Regions from separate parts of the Homo sapiens genome. Here regions 1, 2, 4 and 5 are each linked to region 3. Evidence: promoter capture Hi-C in 16 types of primary human blood cells and fetal thymus (Javierre and others, 2016). All regions are on one chromosome and are shown on one strand. Each heading gives the region's core, a stretch centred on a gene start or on the middle of the fragment in contact. The rest is flanking DNA. Distances are from core to core; before and after follow the strand shown.

Region 1 (2,700 bases), core at 201-2,700, 180 kb before region 3:
GGTGAAACCCCATCTCTACTGAAAATACAAAAATTAGCCGGGTGTGGTGGCAGTCGCCTGTAATCCGAGCTATTTGGGAAGGACGAGAATCGTTTGAACCCGGGAGGCAGAAGCTGCAGTGAGCCGAGATCCCGCCACTGCACTCCAGCCTGGGCAACAGAGTGAGACTTTGTCTCAGAACAAAAAAACAAAAAAAAAAACCCAATAATAATAAAAACAAAATTAGGCCAGGAGCGGTGGCTCACACCTGTAATCCCAGCACTTTGGGAGACCGAGGTGGGTGGATTACCTGAGGTCAGGAGTTTGAGACCAGCCTTGCCAACATAGTGAAACCCCGTCTCCACTAAAGATACAAAAAATTAGCTGAGCATGGTGGCACATGCCTGTAGTCCCAGCTACTCAGGAGGCTGAGGCAGGAGAATCGCTTGAACCTGGGAGGCAGAGGCTGCAGTGAGCCGAGATCGTGCCATTGCACTCCAGCCTGCATGACAGAGCGAGACTCTCTCTCAAAACAAAAAACAAAAACAAAACAAAATAATAAAAATAAGTAAGTAGAAAAGAAAAAGAAAAAAGACCTGAGTCTGGGTTGGGTGAGCGAAATCTCTAGCCGCACTTGGACACTCTGCAGAGGCTTCAAGTTCACCCCATCCAAGTCTCATTCCCTACAAGCTTCCACAGCACAGAGGATGAAATGGGAGCTTCCAGTCACCCACGGCACGCTCTTCCCTTCACCTCCACCTCCGAGCCGTTCTGGAGTCCTGGTGGGTTTGCCTCCACGCACACACAGAGAGTGATCATTCCAGGGGGCACTGCCTCCCCTCAGCTCCCAATGCCCCCTGCCACGGGAGCCTGGGGAGGGGCTTTTACACACTTTGATCATGCCATATCCCTATCCTGGAAACTGGGGCCCCAAAGCCCCCACCTCACTGGGGATGAGGGTGGCGAAGATGACGTAGGACAAACCTTAGCTGGGGTCTGGGGTGCAGATGGCATCCTATACTCCGCCGTATAAACAAGTGCCCCCTCCGGGTTCTGTCACTTATATACTTTGTCCAGTCTCCCTATCCCTTAAAAGGCGTCCCGCCCATCATCTTGTCTAGGACTGTGTGCGCTAAGGGTGAAATGCAAGGTGCTCAGTTTTACTGAAGAAATCTCTCCCTGGGGCGCTGAGTGACAGAAAGGATTTTGAAATTGTCAGTCAACGTACCCCGCCCATTCTGGCTGAGCTGTGCCAACCAGCTCAGCTTTGGATCTTGGCAGAGTGATTGGAAAGCAGGTGAGTTTGTTTGTTTGTTTGGTTTTTGAGATAGAGTCTTGCTCTGTTGCCCAGGCTGGAGTGCAGTGGCGCGATTTCGGCTCACTGCAACCTCCACTTCCCGGGTTCAAGTGATTCTCCTGCCTCAGCCTCCTGAGTATCTGGGACTACAGGCACACACTACCATGCCCGGCTAATTTTCGTATTTTTAATAGAGACGAGGTTTCACCACATTGGTCAGGCTGGTCTCGAACTCCTGACCTCAAGTGATCCACCTGCCTCAGCCTCCCAAAGTGCTGGGATTACAGGTGTGAGCCACCATGCCCGGCCTGTTTTTGTTTTTGTTTTTTTACTCTTTGAGACGGGGTCTTTTGCTCTGTTGCCCAGGCTGGAGTGCAGTGGCTCAATCATGGCTCACTGCAGCCTTGACTTCCCGGGCTCAGGTGATTCTCCCACCTCAGCCTCCTGAGAAGCTGGGACTAGAGGTGTGCACTGCCACGCCTGGCTAATTTTTTTTTTTTTTTAAGAGATGGGATTCACCATGTTGCCCAAGCTAGTCTTGAACTCCTGGGCTTAGGCCATCCTCCCACCTCAGCCTCTCAAAGTATTTGGATTACAGGGGTGAGCCACTGTCCCCGGCCAAGGCGGATCTTGTAAGTCTTGATCTCAACACTCATGTTTTCCGTCTTCCTGTCCAAATCTGTGAACTCCAACTCACAAAGGTGTTTCTCAGCTTGGGACAGTGTAGAAGGCGTCATGGAGGAAGAGAGGCAGAGCTGGGCCTTGGAGGGTGGGAAGGAGTTTAAAAAGGAGACAAGTTGGGGGTTGAGGGAGGCGCTCCAGGAAAGACCAGTAGGGTCACATGTTGGTACTGCAAATATTTCTAAGGTACTGGAGAGGCTGGGACAGGGATAGGAGACCAGGCCAGACTAGGGTAGGGCAGCTGAGGAGCCCAACTTCCTTCTAAGGATGAGGAAAAGCTTCAAAGAGATGAGCAGAACATGGCAGAGGCAGATCTTTTAAATTTTATTACTGTTATTTTTAGAGACAATGTCTTGTTCTGTCACTCAGGCTGGATTGTAGTGGGCTGGTAATAGCCCACTGCAGCCTCCAACTCCTGGGCTCAAGGCATCCTTCCTCCTCAGCCTCCCAAAGGACTGGGATTACAGGCAAGAAGTAATTTTTTTTTTTTTTTTTTTTTTGAGACGGAGTCTTGCTCTGTTGTGCAGGCTGGAATGCAGTGGCACGATCTGGATCTCGGCTAACTGCAACCACCACCTCTTGAGTTCAAGTGATTCTCGTGCCTCGGCCTCCCAAGTAGCTGGGATTACAGGCATGGGCCATGAGGCCCAGCTAATTTTTGTATTTTTAGTAGAGATGGTCTCAAATTTCTGGCCTCAAGTGATCTGCCCGCCTTGGCCCCCCAAAGTGCTAGGATTACAGGT
Region 2 (2,700 bases), core at 191-2,690, 230 kb before region 3:
TGGGAGGGACCCCCTTCGGCCAGGACCCAGGCCTCGGGCACCTCACCCACTGTTGGGGTATAGCAAATGGCTGAATCCTTTCTGGGGAAGGTGACTTTGCAGAACATGTCCAGGCCACCTGACCCAGCACCTCGATTCTAGGAATCAAGGAGTAGAGAGGCTGCGCCGTTCTCACCCAAGCGCCCAAGTGCAAGGACAGCCCCCAGGGTCTGTAGCGGCAGGGGTGGTGCTGGGCAGTAGTCAGACATGGCTGATTGTTGTGGGGGGCGGAGTGAAACAGACGCAGTGCATCCCATGGGCTGATGATGAAAGATGCCGACCCCCAGCAACCGGCTGGGAAAGGTCTTTAGGACCTGGTTTCTGTCTGTTTGCAAGCAGTTTAGTTTATTTTTATTTTTTGAGACCCAGTCTTGCTCTGTCACCTGCGCTGGAGTGTACTGCTGAAATCACGGCTCATTGAAGCCTCAACCTCTTTGGCTCAGGTGACCTTCTCACCTCAGCCTCTCGAGTACCTGGGACCACAGGTGCATGCCATCATATCCAACTAATTTTTTTCTCTAGAGACGGGGTCTCACTATGTTGCCCAGGCTTGTCTCAAACTCCTGGGCTCAAGCGATCCTCCTACCTCAGCCTCTCAAAGTGCTGGGATTCCAGGTGCGTGCCACCACGCCCAGCTGAGAGCAGTTTTAGATTTACAGAAAAATTGCAAAGGCTGTACCAAGTTCCCCGACACCGCACACATCTAGCGTCCCTTACGCATAACCTCTCACAGTGCTGTGCTGCATTTGCCTCACTAATGAACAAGTGCTGAGATGGTATTAATATTAATGGAGCTCCACACTTTATTCACGTTCTTCCATTTTTCCTGAATGTCCTTTCTCTGTCCAAGGATCCCACCTGATCTTTAGTCCTCACATCTCCTTAGACTCCTCTGGGCTGAGACGGTTTCTCAGGCTCTTTGTTTTTGGTGACCGTTACAGTTTTGGGGAGCAGTGGTCAGGGCTGCTGGAGAATGCCCCTCCGGTGGGATGTGTCTGGTGTTTTTTCCTTTCTTTCGAGACAGAGTCTCGCTGTGTCACCCAGGCTGGAATGCAGTGGCGTGATCTCGGCTCACTGCACCCTCCACCTCCTGGGTTCAAGTGATTCTTCTGACTCAGCCTCCTGAGTAGCTGAGATTACAGGTGCCTGCCACCATGCCTGGCCAATTTTTGTATTTTTAGTAGAGACAGGATTTTGCCAGGTTGGCCAGGCTGGTCTTAAACTCCTGAGCTCGTGATCTGCCCGCCTCAGCCTCCCAAAGTGCTGGGATTACAGGCGTGAGCCACTGCGCCCAGCCTGATGTTTTTCTCACGGTCAGATGGGGTGATGGATCTGGGGGAGGAAGACCCTAGTCGTCACACTCCATCAGAGGCACATGCGTCCACCTGACTTATCCCAGCCAGCGTTGTCCTGGATCACCTAGCCCAGCTGGGATCCATCAGGTTTCTGTGCTGCAGTCACTGACAGCCCCCTTTCCAGACTGCACTCTTTGGAAAGAAGCCGCTAAGCGCAGCCACACCTGAGGGCAGGAGGCATGGCCCCTCTTGGAGGTCCGAGCTGCTGTGCTATTTGGGAATCCTTTGCCTGGGAGATTTGTCTCTTCCCTACCATGTACTTACTTACTCTGTCATTTCTTTATATTATATGGACTCATGGTTATTTTATAGTTCAGGCTTTCATCCATGATGCTTTATGTTTTTTTCCATTTCTACTCAAACTGTTCCAGCTTTGGCCATCAAGGGTTCTTTCGGTGGGTGCCCATGACCCCCTCGCCACACCCATCTGCTTTGGTTTCTGTTTCTGAACATGCCCTCCATGACTGGCACCTCCACGTACGTGCTCTAGGCTCTTCCTTTCTCTCTGGCCCCATCTTTGAAGCAGGTGTTTCTCCCAGAGCCAGTGCCCATGGGTCCATGTTCACTAGGAGAGTCAGCAGTGGAGGCTGGTGTAGCAGAATCCCAAGTGCACTTTGTACAGCGTCACTCACCGGCACTGATGCCTGCTCTGGGGCCTCTGCACCCTTTGCTTCACTTTGCAGTAATGCGTTTTCATTTACTGGATGATTTTAAAGCGTGGGAACTAACCAGGCACGGTGGCCATGCCTGGAATCCCAGCATTTTGGGAGGCTGAGGCCAGAGGATCGCTTGAGCCCAGGAGTTCCAGACCAGCCTGGGCAACATAGTGAGTCACTGTCTCTACAAAATATAAAATGAAAAATAAAAATTAGCCAACCCAGTCGGACGCGGTGGCTCATGCTTGTAATCCCAGCACTTTGGGAGGCCACGTTAGGAGGATCACACGAGGCCAGGAATTCAAAACCAGCCTGGCCAACATGGCAAAACCCTAGCTCTACTAAAAATAAAAAAATAAAAAATAGCTGGGTTTGGTAGTAAACGTCTGTAATCCCAGGTACTTGAGAGGCTGAGGCACAAGAATTACTTGAACCTGGAAGGCGGAGGCTGCAGTGAACCGAGATCATGCCACTGCATTCCAGCCTGGGCTACAGAGGGAGATTCTGTCAAAGCAAAAACAAAAACAAAAAAAAACACCCTTAGCTGACCAAGTGGGAGGATCACTTGGGCTCAGGAATTTGAGGCTGCAGTGAGCTATGATTGTTCTACTGCACTTGAGCCTGGGTGGGGGAAAAAAAAAAGGCCAGGT
Region 3 (2,700 bases), core at 201-2,700:
AATACACAAAAACACTGGCCAGGTGCGGTGGCCGGCGCCTGTAATCCCAGCTACTCAGGAGGCTGAGGCAGAAGAATGGCTTGAACCCGGGAGGTAGAGGTTGCAGTCAGCCGACATCGTGCCACTGCACTCCAGCCTGGGCGACAGAGCGAAACTCCGCTTCAACAAAAAGAAAAAAAGAATTCTAAAAGGCCATTTTCAAGGCCCCGCCAGATGGTTCCCCTCCCTTCTGCTTCATCCTTGACATTCTTCAAAAGGACAAGCCCATCCTACCAGGGCCTCTGCATTTACTGGCCCCCCTCTGTGTGGAAGGCTCCACCCTCCAGGGATTCCCATAGCTGGCATTCATTGTCTTAACTCAAATGTCCTCTGCTTGAAAAGGCCTTTCCCTGGGCCAGGTGTGGTGGCTCACACCTTTACGTAACCCCAGCACTTTAAGAGGCTGAGATGGGAGGATCGCTTGAGCCTAGGAATTCCAGACCTGCATGGGAAACGTGGCAACACAAAAAACACACAAATTCGCTGTGTGGTGGCGCGCATCTGTGGTCTCAGCTACTAGGGAGGCTGAGGTGGGAGGATCACCTGAACCCAGGGAGCCACAGTGAGCCACTGCACTACAGCCTGGGCGACAAAGTGAGACCCTGTCTCAAAAAAAAAAAAAAAAAAAAAAAGAAAGAAAGAAAGAAAAGGTCTTTCCTGACTACCCAATATCAGAAGCCTCCACTCTGATCATATCATACGTAACCTCACATCATACGTAAGTTTTTGTAAATATTTTCTCATTAATGCACTGACACCCCAGTAGAAAGCAACCTCCAGGAAGGCAGGGCCCTGTTTCGGTCACCGCTGCATGCGTAGCGCCCAGCACACTGCTTGGCACACAGTGAGCACGCCCTAAGTATCTGCTGATGGGTAAATGCATTCTATTCTGGGGAAGCAGAAAGGCCAAGGCTTGCAGCAAAGTGAGGGTCAAAAGACGCGGGAAAGTGTGTCAAGGGAGCCTCAAAGCACTTCGGAAAAGCAGCTTTTCCAGAAAGCGGGACACAGGCCAGAGGCCAGCTGCGACGAAAAGAGGGGTGCAGGGACAGCCCAAGGTTGTCGCCGTATTGGGGAACGGAGGTTGGAGCAGCCCTGAAGGCGGTTGTTTCGGAAACGGGACGCAGGGCCGAGCCGGGTGGCGGCCTCTACGGAGATCCGTGCGTCCTCAGCAAACCAAGCGGGGGCGGCCAGCAACCTGGGTCTGGGGTCTCGAGAAACCAAGAGGTGCAGAAGCCGACGCTGTGGGCTGCCCCGGGGCTGAAGCGAGGGATCCACGGGTCGCAGCAGGACGGACCCGAGGAGTCAGGGGAGACACCTAGCCCCAGGGACCCAGGCGGCCGCCTGAGAGGAGGCGGGGGCTGTTACCTGCAACATCCCGGTTGTCCATCTTGAGACTCATCCAATCCCACAATGCTCCGGCGCCCCTTAAGGGGCCCTGTTATAGTGTGCATCGCCTGATGGGAGATGTAGTCCGCCTCGGTCAGACTCGCCCTATTACTGCGTGAACGACTGGGTTTTTTTTTTTTTAACCTCCAGAAACGGAAGCCTCAGCCTATCAGCGATGCCTAAGTCCCAGTCACGATAACCAAACGGCGTCGCCCTTTTACACCTTCCCGGAGCGGCAGTCATCCCAAATACAAACTACATGTTCCAGGATGCTTTGGGCGGCAGATCTCGCGGAAGCCGCGAGGAGAGCCCGGCCCCGTCTCGCGCGCCTGCTTCCGCCTCCCTGTGGCGGCGGCTTGTTGTTGTGGAGGCCAAAATGGCGGCTCAGGCGGCGGCAGCGGCCCAGGCGGCGGCGGCCCAGGCTGCGCAGGCCGAGGCGGCCGACTCGTGGTACCTGGCGCTTCTGGGCTTCGCTGAGCACTTCCGCACTTCCAGCCCGCCCAAAATCCGCCTGTGCGTGCACTGCCTGCAGGCCGTGTTCCCCTTCAAGCCGCCGCAGCGCATCGAGGCCCGTACACACCTGCAGCTGGGCTCCGTTCTCTATCACCACACCAAGAACAGCGAGCAGGCGCGCAGCCACCTGGAGAAGGCGGTGAGCGCGGGCCGGGCCGCGAGGGAGGAGTCGCGGGCTCCTTGCAAGATCTGGGCTGACGGGTCGCGACCGCGGCGGGTGGGGGGCCGCTCCTCGGCGACCTGGGGGCGCGACCTCCGTCAAAGCCGCAGGACCCCCACCCGCCTCTGCCGGACCCCAAAGCCACCAGCCTCTCAAGGGACACGAAAGCCTCGCCCCCCACGCCTTATTTCCCGTTTCTGGTGACAGGGCTCCAGGAGCCCCGTCACCGTACTCTGAAAGTTGCCTGTTATTGGGAGCAACAGGATCCGCAAATCGTCTGGTTTTCAGGAGGATCCCACCTGTTGGTGGCGATGGGGACATCACAGGGTCCTGAAGCTATTAGCTCCTCCTGGTTCAGCTTCCGGAGCATCAGCCCCAAACGCTTCCACCTAAAGTGACTTGGGGTAGGGGTTGGCGAAGGCGAGACCCCTGGCATTCTCCCGGGAATCTGAAGTCTGGTCTCTCAGGAACCTGGAAGGGCATGATTCTCCTTGGACACAGAAGTTTGGTAATCGTGGTTTTTGGAGGGTCTTGTGCCCCCATCAATAATGCCTGGTGTCGTACGAGGGAAGCTGAGACCCGGAGTCTGGAGTTGGTCATTT
Region 4 (2,700 bases), core at 34-2,533, 140 kb after region 3:
GAAGGACAGAGACCATAGAACTTCAGGGCTGAGAGGGACACCGTAGCATTCCTCACCTCCCCCAGAGAAGTGAGGCCATGACCTCCACATTCGACCTCTACCTGGGCTCCATTCCACGGAGGAGCTGAGGGGCAGCTGAGCAGGAGCGGGGGCGGGGGTGGACAGGGTGGCCGGGGGCAGCGGAGGCCGCACAGTTGGTGTGGGATAGGTGGTAGGTGCAGGCTGGGATGCCAGAGGGGCTGGGGACAGGTGGAGGCAAGTCTGAAAACCTGTGCCCTTGAGATTCGGAGTCTCCCTGCCTCAGCCTGGTCATGTTAAGGGTCAGCCATGGCACCTGGGTGGTGGTGAGACAGGGTAGGGAGCACAGAGCTGCTCTGGGCCTGTGTGAAGCACCAGGGATTTCCTGGCCTTGAGGAGACCCCAGTGTTTCAAGCCGGTGCCCGGGTGCCCTGGCTGGACCACACTGGCACAACACGCATGTAGACGGCCTGCTTTCCCTCTGGCTCCAGGAGCGTGAAGCAGCTGTCTCTTTCTTTCCTTTCAGTTTGAGTGCATGAGGGGGCACATTTGGGCAGGGCCTTGCGCTATTGCTCATTTGTGAAATTGGCTCCTTTAAGGAAGCTGCAGATGAGTCAGCTCTGGAGTGCGTCCCATGGATGGCGACAGGACCCCTGTGTTGCCTTGTGCTGCCCCCAGCTTCCAGACGGTCTGCCTGGCTCTACCTGGGACAGGCTTCCCCAGGGTGTTTGCCAGTGAGGAAACTAAGGCTCTGGCAAGATGAGTGCCCTGCCTGTGAGGACACAGATAGGACCAGAGGGCTTCAGCATAGAGCATGCCACAGGTGTGAATTGGGGTTCTCTGTGGGGCCCAAGTGGGCACCAACTGTCCCATGGAAAACTGTGACACTTCGGGAATTCCACTAGAGCTCAGCTGCTAAATTTCTCTTTTGTCCTCTGGTAAACACTGGGATGCTTTTTTAAGAACCTGACTCTCTCTGTCTCAATTCCTGTGCCCTGTCCTGTTGGGACGTCGAGGCCGGGATTAGAGCAGCCCCTTTAAGAGTGCCAGTGTCCCAGACCCTGCTGTGGAATGCCAGCCGCCTCCCTGCAGACAGACATCGCTGTGCTGTCGTCCTGTCTCCGTGAGGGTTAACAACACTTCAGCCTGTTGTCTGGAACCGGTTCAGACTGGTTTTCTGGAAAGTGCTTTGTCTCTCCGACTGAATCCTGGGAAGGGTCATGTGGAGCCAGTGATGTCATGGGATCAAAAACTGACTCAGCTGTTTTTTTCTTCTTTTTCTTTCTTCTTTAAATCAAGATATGTGTGTGCTGCAGGTACAGGGCAGTGGCACGTTGATGGGCCAGGCCTCACTCTACTCAAAGTGTACCTCACTGGCAACCAAAGGGTTAAATGTGATCCCCAGTCCCCACTCCCCAGAGGTGAGCAGGGAGTGAGGAGACCTCCCTTCCCTGAAGGGGAGAAGCTGGGGTTAACTCGAGTCACCACAGCATAGGGCTAGTCCCAGGCCCCGACCCTGCTCCTGGAACAGTGCAGTCACCGCCCTCCTGGATTCCAGACATTGCAGGTGCTGAAAATCCCAAAGGCAGGTAGTTGAGATCTAGAACAACTTTTCCTCTGTTTGCTGTTGAGCCTTTCCTTGCTGATAAGCAGCCACCTTCCACTGCTCCTGTTCAGCACCCTGCTGCCTCTGGCCCCCAACAGGGCAGGGTGTAGTTTGGCTCCACCAATGTTCAGCCACACAGTGGAGGCTGGGGACACCCCCCTCCTGCCTAGCCTTCCTCAAGGCAGTGATGAAATGTCCTGGGGATGCTTTTCTGGGCCCTGCGTTTGTTGTACATTCTTTTGCCATCCTTCCCATAGGGAGGAAAACACTGAAAGCAACACTGAAAAGTCTCCAAGAAGGTGGCACCTTCATTGCACCCAGTTAAAATGTTGTGTCTTCTCCTCCCTCCCAAGTTCAGAATGACCGAAGAAGCATGCCGAACACGGAGTCAGAAACGAGCGCTTGAACGGGACCCAACAGAGGACGATGTGGAGAGCAAGAAAATAAAAATGGAGAGAGGATTGTTGGCTTCAGATTTAAACACTGACGGAGACATGAGGGTGACACCTGAGCCGGGAGCAGGTCCAACCCAAGGATTGCTGAGGGCAACAGAGGCCACGGCCATGGCCATGGGCAGAGGCGAAGGGCTGGTGGGCGATGGGCCCGTGGACATGCGCACCTCACACAGGTGAGTGGGAGGAGCCAGCGGGAGGGGCTGGAACCTGGAGACAAGCCCAGTGTGCCCAGGTTGGGGCTGGCCACACTCCAGGCCTGTTGGTAACAGCTTGGCGGGGTTGTGGAGAGGGCTGTAGGCTCAGCTCGGGCATCACCCACCACTGGCAGCTGTGCTGTTGTGGCCATTCCAGGGCCCCAGGTCCCAACTGCAAGTGGCACAGAGTGTGGGTCTCACAGGAGAAGGAGTGGCACATTCCATCAGCTCCCCTGCCATCAGTAGGCCTTTGCCACCCACGCACCTGCTGTCTGTCCAACTCGGTGCTTTTGGTTTGTAGGGACACTTGAGTTATTCATTTGGTTATGCTTCCCTGCTTTTCAGATCTAGAGGTCAGAGGGCCAGGAATGCTACACCTACCTTGGTCACTTGGCTAGGGATAGAGTTGGGAGCCCAGCCCAGGGCA
Region 5 (2,700 bases), core at 5-2,504, 190 kb after region 3:
CTGGCTTCTCTGTATTGTTTCGTCCTAGCTTCCCAGGCAGGTTGGAGGGAGATGGAGGATGACCCTTAGTTAATGAGAGAAGCAAAGGGCGGGGTGCATCTGCTGCTGGGGCCTCACTTACTGTGGGGATGGAGTCCCCACGGCCCCTCTCCTCTGGAGCTTTGTGGCAAACTTACCCCATGGGCTGGGAGAGAGGAATGAGAATCTCAGTGGGGGCTGGGTTTGGTGGCTCACATTTGTAATCCCAGCACTTTGAGAGGCTGAGGTGGGTGGATCACCTGAGGTCAGGAGTTCGATACCAGCCTGGCCAACATGGTGAAACCCCATCTCTACTAAAAATACAAAAATTGGCCGGATGTGGTGGTGGGTGCCTGTACCCCAGCTACTTGGGAGGCTGAGGCAGGAGAATCGCATGAACCCGGGAGGCAGAGGTTGCAGTGAGCCAAGATTGCGCCACTGCACTATAGCCTGGGTAAGAGACCGTGACTTTCTCAAAAAAAAAAAAAAATTCTCAGTGGAATTTGCTTGTGTTTGCTGCATCAGCCTTCACGCTAGAGTGGTGGGTTTTCCTGGAGCAATTTTCAGGCTGGGGGCCTCGATGGTGTCTTTGCTGCAGGATGTGATATTACAGATGTGCAATCTAAGCACAGAGTCACCAACCTGGATCCAAAATGAACGACGTCCTGGCAAAAATGTTTTCAAGTGTTGATAGTTTCAAGTTTTATTCTTAAGGTGAGACCTGGGATCATTTTGCTGAATTTTAATGTGCATAAAACATGACCCTGTTTTCCTAGGTGCTATTTATTTGAGGCAGGGTCTCACTCTGTTGCCCAGGCTGGAATGCAGTGGCTTGATCTCAGCTCACTGCAGCCTCAACCTCCCTAGGCTCAGGTGATCCTCACATCTCAGACTCCTCAGTAGCTGGGACTATGGGCATGCACCACCATGCCCAGCTAATTTTCGTATTTTTTGCAAAGACACATTTTTGCCATGTTGCCCATGGCTGGTCTTGAACTCCTGGACTCAAGCAGTCCTCTCACCTTGGCCTCCCAAAGTGCTGGGATTACAGGTGTGAGTCACCACGCTTGGCCGTTTCTTGTCTTTGAAGCATCCTTGCCTCCGGCCTGGGAGCTCATACCTTCCCCACAACTCCCAAGTGCCTGGTCTTATGGGCACAGAGCTGGTAGAGAACATGGTAGAAACTGAACCTCAGCCTGTCCAGTAGCGCGATCTTGGCTCATTGCAACCTCCGCCTCCCAGGTTCTAGCGATTCTTCTGCCTCAGCCTCCCGAGTAGCTGGGATTACAGGTGCCGCCACCAGCACGCCCAGTTAATTTTCAGTAGAGATGGGGTTTCACGTGTTGGCCAGGCTGGTCTCAAACTCCTGATGTGATCCACCGGTCTCAGCCTCCCAAAGTACTGGGATGACAGGCGTGAGCCACTGCACCCAGCCACTTTTTTTTTTTTTTTTTTTTGAGATAGGCTCTCTGTTGCCCAAGCTAGAGTGCCTAGAGGCTCTCTGTTGCCCAGGCTCAGGCGATCCTCCCACCTCAGCCTACCGTGTAGCTGGGGCCAGAGGCTTGCTACAGGCATTTCTTGCTTGGCCTGAGAAACATTCCTATGGGGTGCTGTCTCCTGGGCTTGGCTCTTGGTTCCTCGTGAGGCTCTGCTTCCCTGGATTGGGCACAGGCTTGTCAGTGCAGTTGGGGCAGATTCAAGGGGCGGGTCCTGGGTCATGGTCTCAAATAGCCTCTCCAGCTGAGAAAATGGGACACTCCCCTCGTCCCTGACATCTTGTCCCCGACATCTCATCCTCTCTGAATTGAGCCTTGGGTCTGTGGCCACATGGCAGGCAGAGACCCTGACCCCATCTGCTCCCACAGATTCGTCGGTGGACAGATGGCATGCACTATGCCCTGGGCCCCGGAGATGTGGCAGGAGCTATCCAGACAGAAACATATAGCACCTTGAGAGGAGGGCATGGGGTGACATTTTAGGCAAGGCTTGAAGAGGGGAAAAGTGCCAGGAGTGTGCAAAGGCTTGGAGATAGGAGCCAGCATGGCAGGTCAAGAACAAAAAGGGCAATGTGGTGGGACTGGGTGGGAAGACGGGGCAAGGGCGTGGGTTTTAGCTAAGTGCAGTGGGAGTCTAGGGAAGGTCCTGGGCCCAGTACTCAAGCTACGCCCACTCTGAAGCCATGCCCACTACCCCAAGGATGGGGTTTTGCCCATTTTCCAAGTGGGGAGTCTGAGGCATGGCCCCAGTCAGGAGCAGCACCCTTCGAATAAACCAGAGGGGCTAGGGGCTAGGTTTTATTTTATTTATTTATTTTTTCTTTTGAGGCAGAGTCTTGCTCTGCTGCCCAGGCTGGAGTGCATTGGTGGGATCTTGGCTCACTGCATCCTCCATTTTCCGGGTTCAAGTGATTCTCCTGACTCAGGCTCCCCAGTAGCTAGGACTACAGGTGCAAGCCACCCATGCCCGACTAAATTTTGTATTTTTAGTAGAGATGGGGTTTTACCATGTTAGCCAGGCTGGTCTCAAACGCCTGACCTCAAGTGATCCGCCTCCCAAAGTGCTGGGATTACAGGTGTGAGCCACCATGCCCGGCCCCAGGAGCTGGGTTTTCTACCTCCACTCTGATGTGGTCCAGCCAAGACTGGAGGCTAGGCACTGCCCCTCTTTTAGCCTCGGTTTCCT

The links. Contacts are between HindIII fragments. The CHiCAGO score rates a contact against its expected background, and 5 or more counts as called.
Region 1: a fragment that was not itself captured here is called in contact with the fragment with the promoter of SUGP1 in region 3 in 6 of 17 cell types (M1 macrophages, M0 macrophages, neutrophils and 3 more); the score reaches 9.2 in M1 macrophages.
Region 2: a fragment that was not itself captured here is called in contact with the fragment with the promoter of SUGP1 in region 3 in 2 of 17 cell types (M1 macrophages and M0 macrophages); the score reaches 6.8 in M1 macrophages.
Region 4: a contact is called between a fragment that was not itself captured here and the fragment with the promoter of SUGP1 in region 3, in 1 of 17 cell types (monocytes). The highest score is 7.0, in monocytes.
Region 5: a contact is called between a fragment that was not itself captured here and the fragment with the promoter of SUGP1 in region 3, in 6 of 17 cell types (neutrophils, monocytes, fetal thymus and 3 more). The highest score is 9.8, in neutrophils.

What each region holds. Positions count from the first base shown.
Region 1 is chr19:19,141,374-19,144,073 of GRCh38, forward strand. No RefSeq gene overlaps it. Among named protein-coding and RNA genes, the nearest start is that of TMEM161A, 4.2 kb to the left of the region's middle. The HindIII fragment of the contact is 1,566 bases long and covers 668-2,233 here.
Region 2 is chr19:19,092,640-19,095,339 of GRCh38, forward strand. The region is part of intron 1 of SLC25A42 (solute carrier family 25 member 42); the gene reads left to right. Among named protein-coding and RNA genes, the nearest start is that of SLC25A42, 30 kb to the left of the region's middle. RefSeq lists an enhancer at 2,139-2,638. The HindIII fragment of the contact is 6,803 bases long and covers 1-2,700 here.
Region 3 is chr19:19,319,059-19,321,758 of GRCh38, forward strand. It overlaps SUGP1 (SURP and G-patch domain containing 1), which reads right to left and starts at 1,451. Exons shown (of 14, transcript NM_172231.4): 1 at 1,405-1,451. The coding sequence starts at 1,438. MAU2 (MAU2 sister chromatid cohesion factor) reads left to right here and starts at 1,771. Exons shown (of 19, transcript NM_015329.4): 1 at 1,771-2,077. The coding sequence starts at 1,802. RefSeq lists enhancers at 1,319-1,368, 1,389-1,878, 1,587-2,558 and a silencer at 1,930-2,151. The HindIII fragment of the contact is 18,112 bases long and covers 1-2,700 here.
Region 4 is chr19:19,463,363-19,466,062 of GRCh38, forward strand. GATAD2A (GATA zinc finger domain containing 2A) reads left to right here. Exons shown (of 12, transcript NM_001384528.1): 2 at 1,978-2,252. The coding sequence starts at 1,984. Among named protein-coding and RNA genes, the nearest start is that of MIR640, 30 kb to the left of the region's middle. The HindIII fragment of the contact is 3,138 bases long and covers 1-2,700 here.
Region 5 is chr19:19,508,955-19,511,654 of GRCh38, forward strand. No RefSeq gene overlaps it. Among named protein-coding and RNA genes, the nearest start is that of TSSK6, 5.2 kb to the right of the region's middle. The HindIII fragment of the contact is 3,522 bases long and covers 1-2,700 here.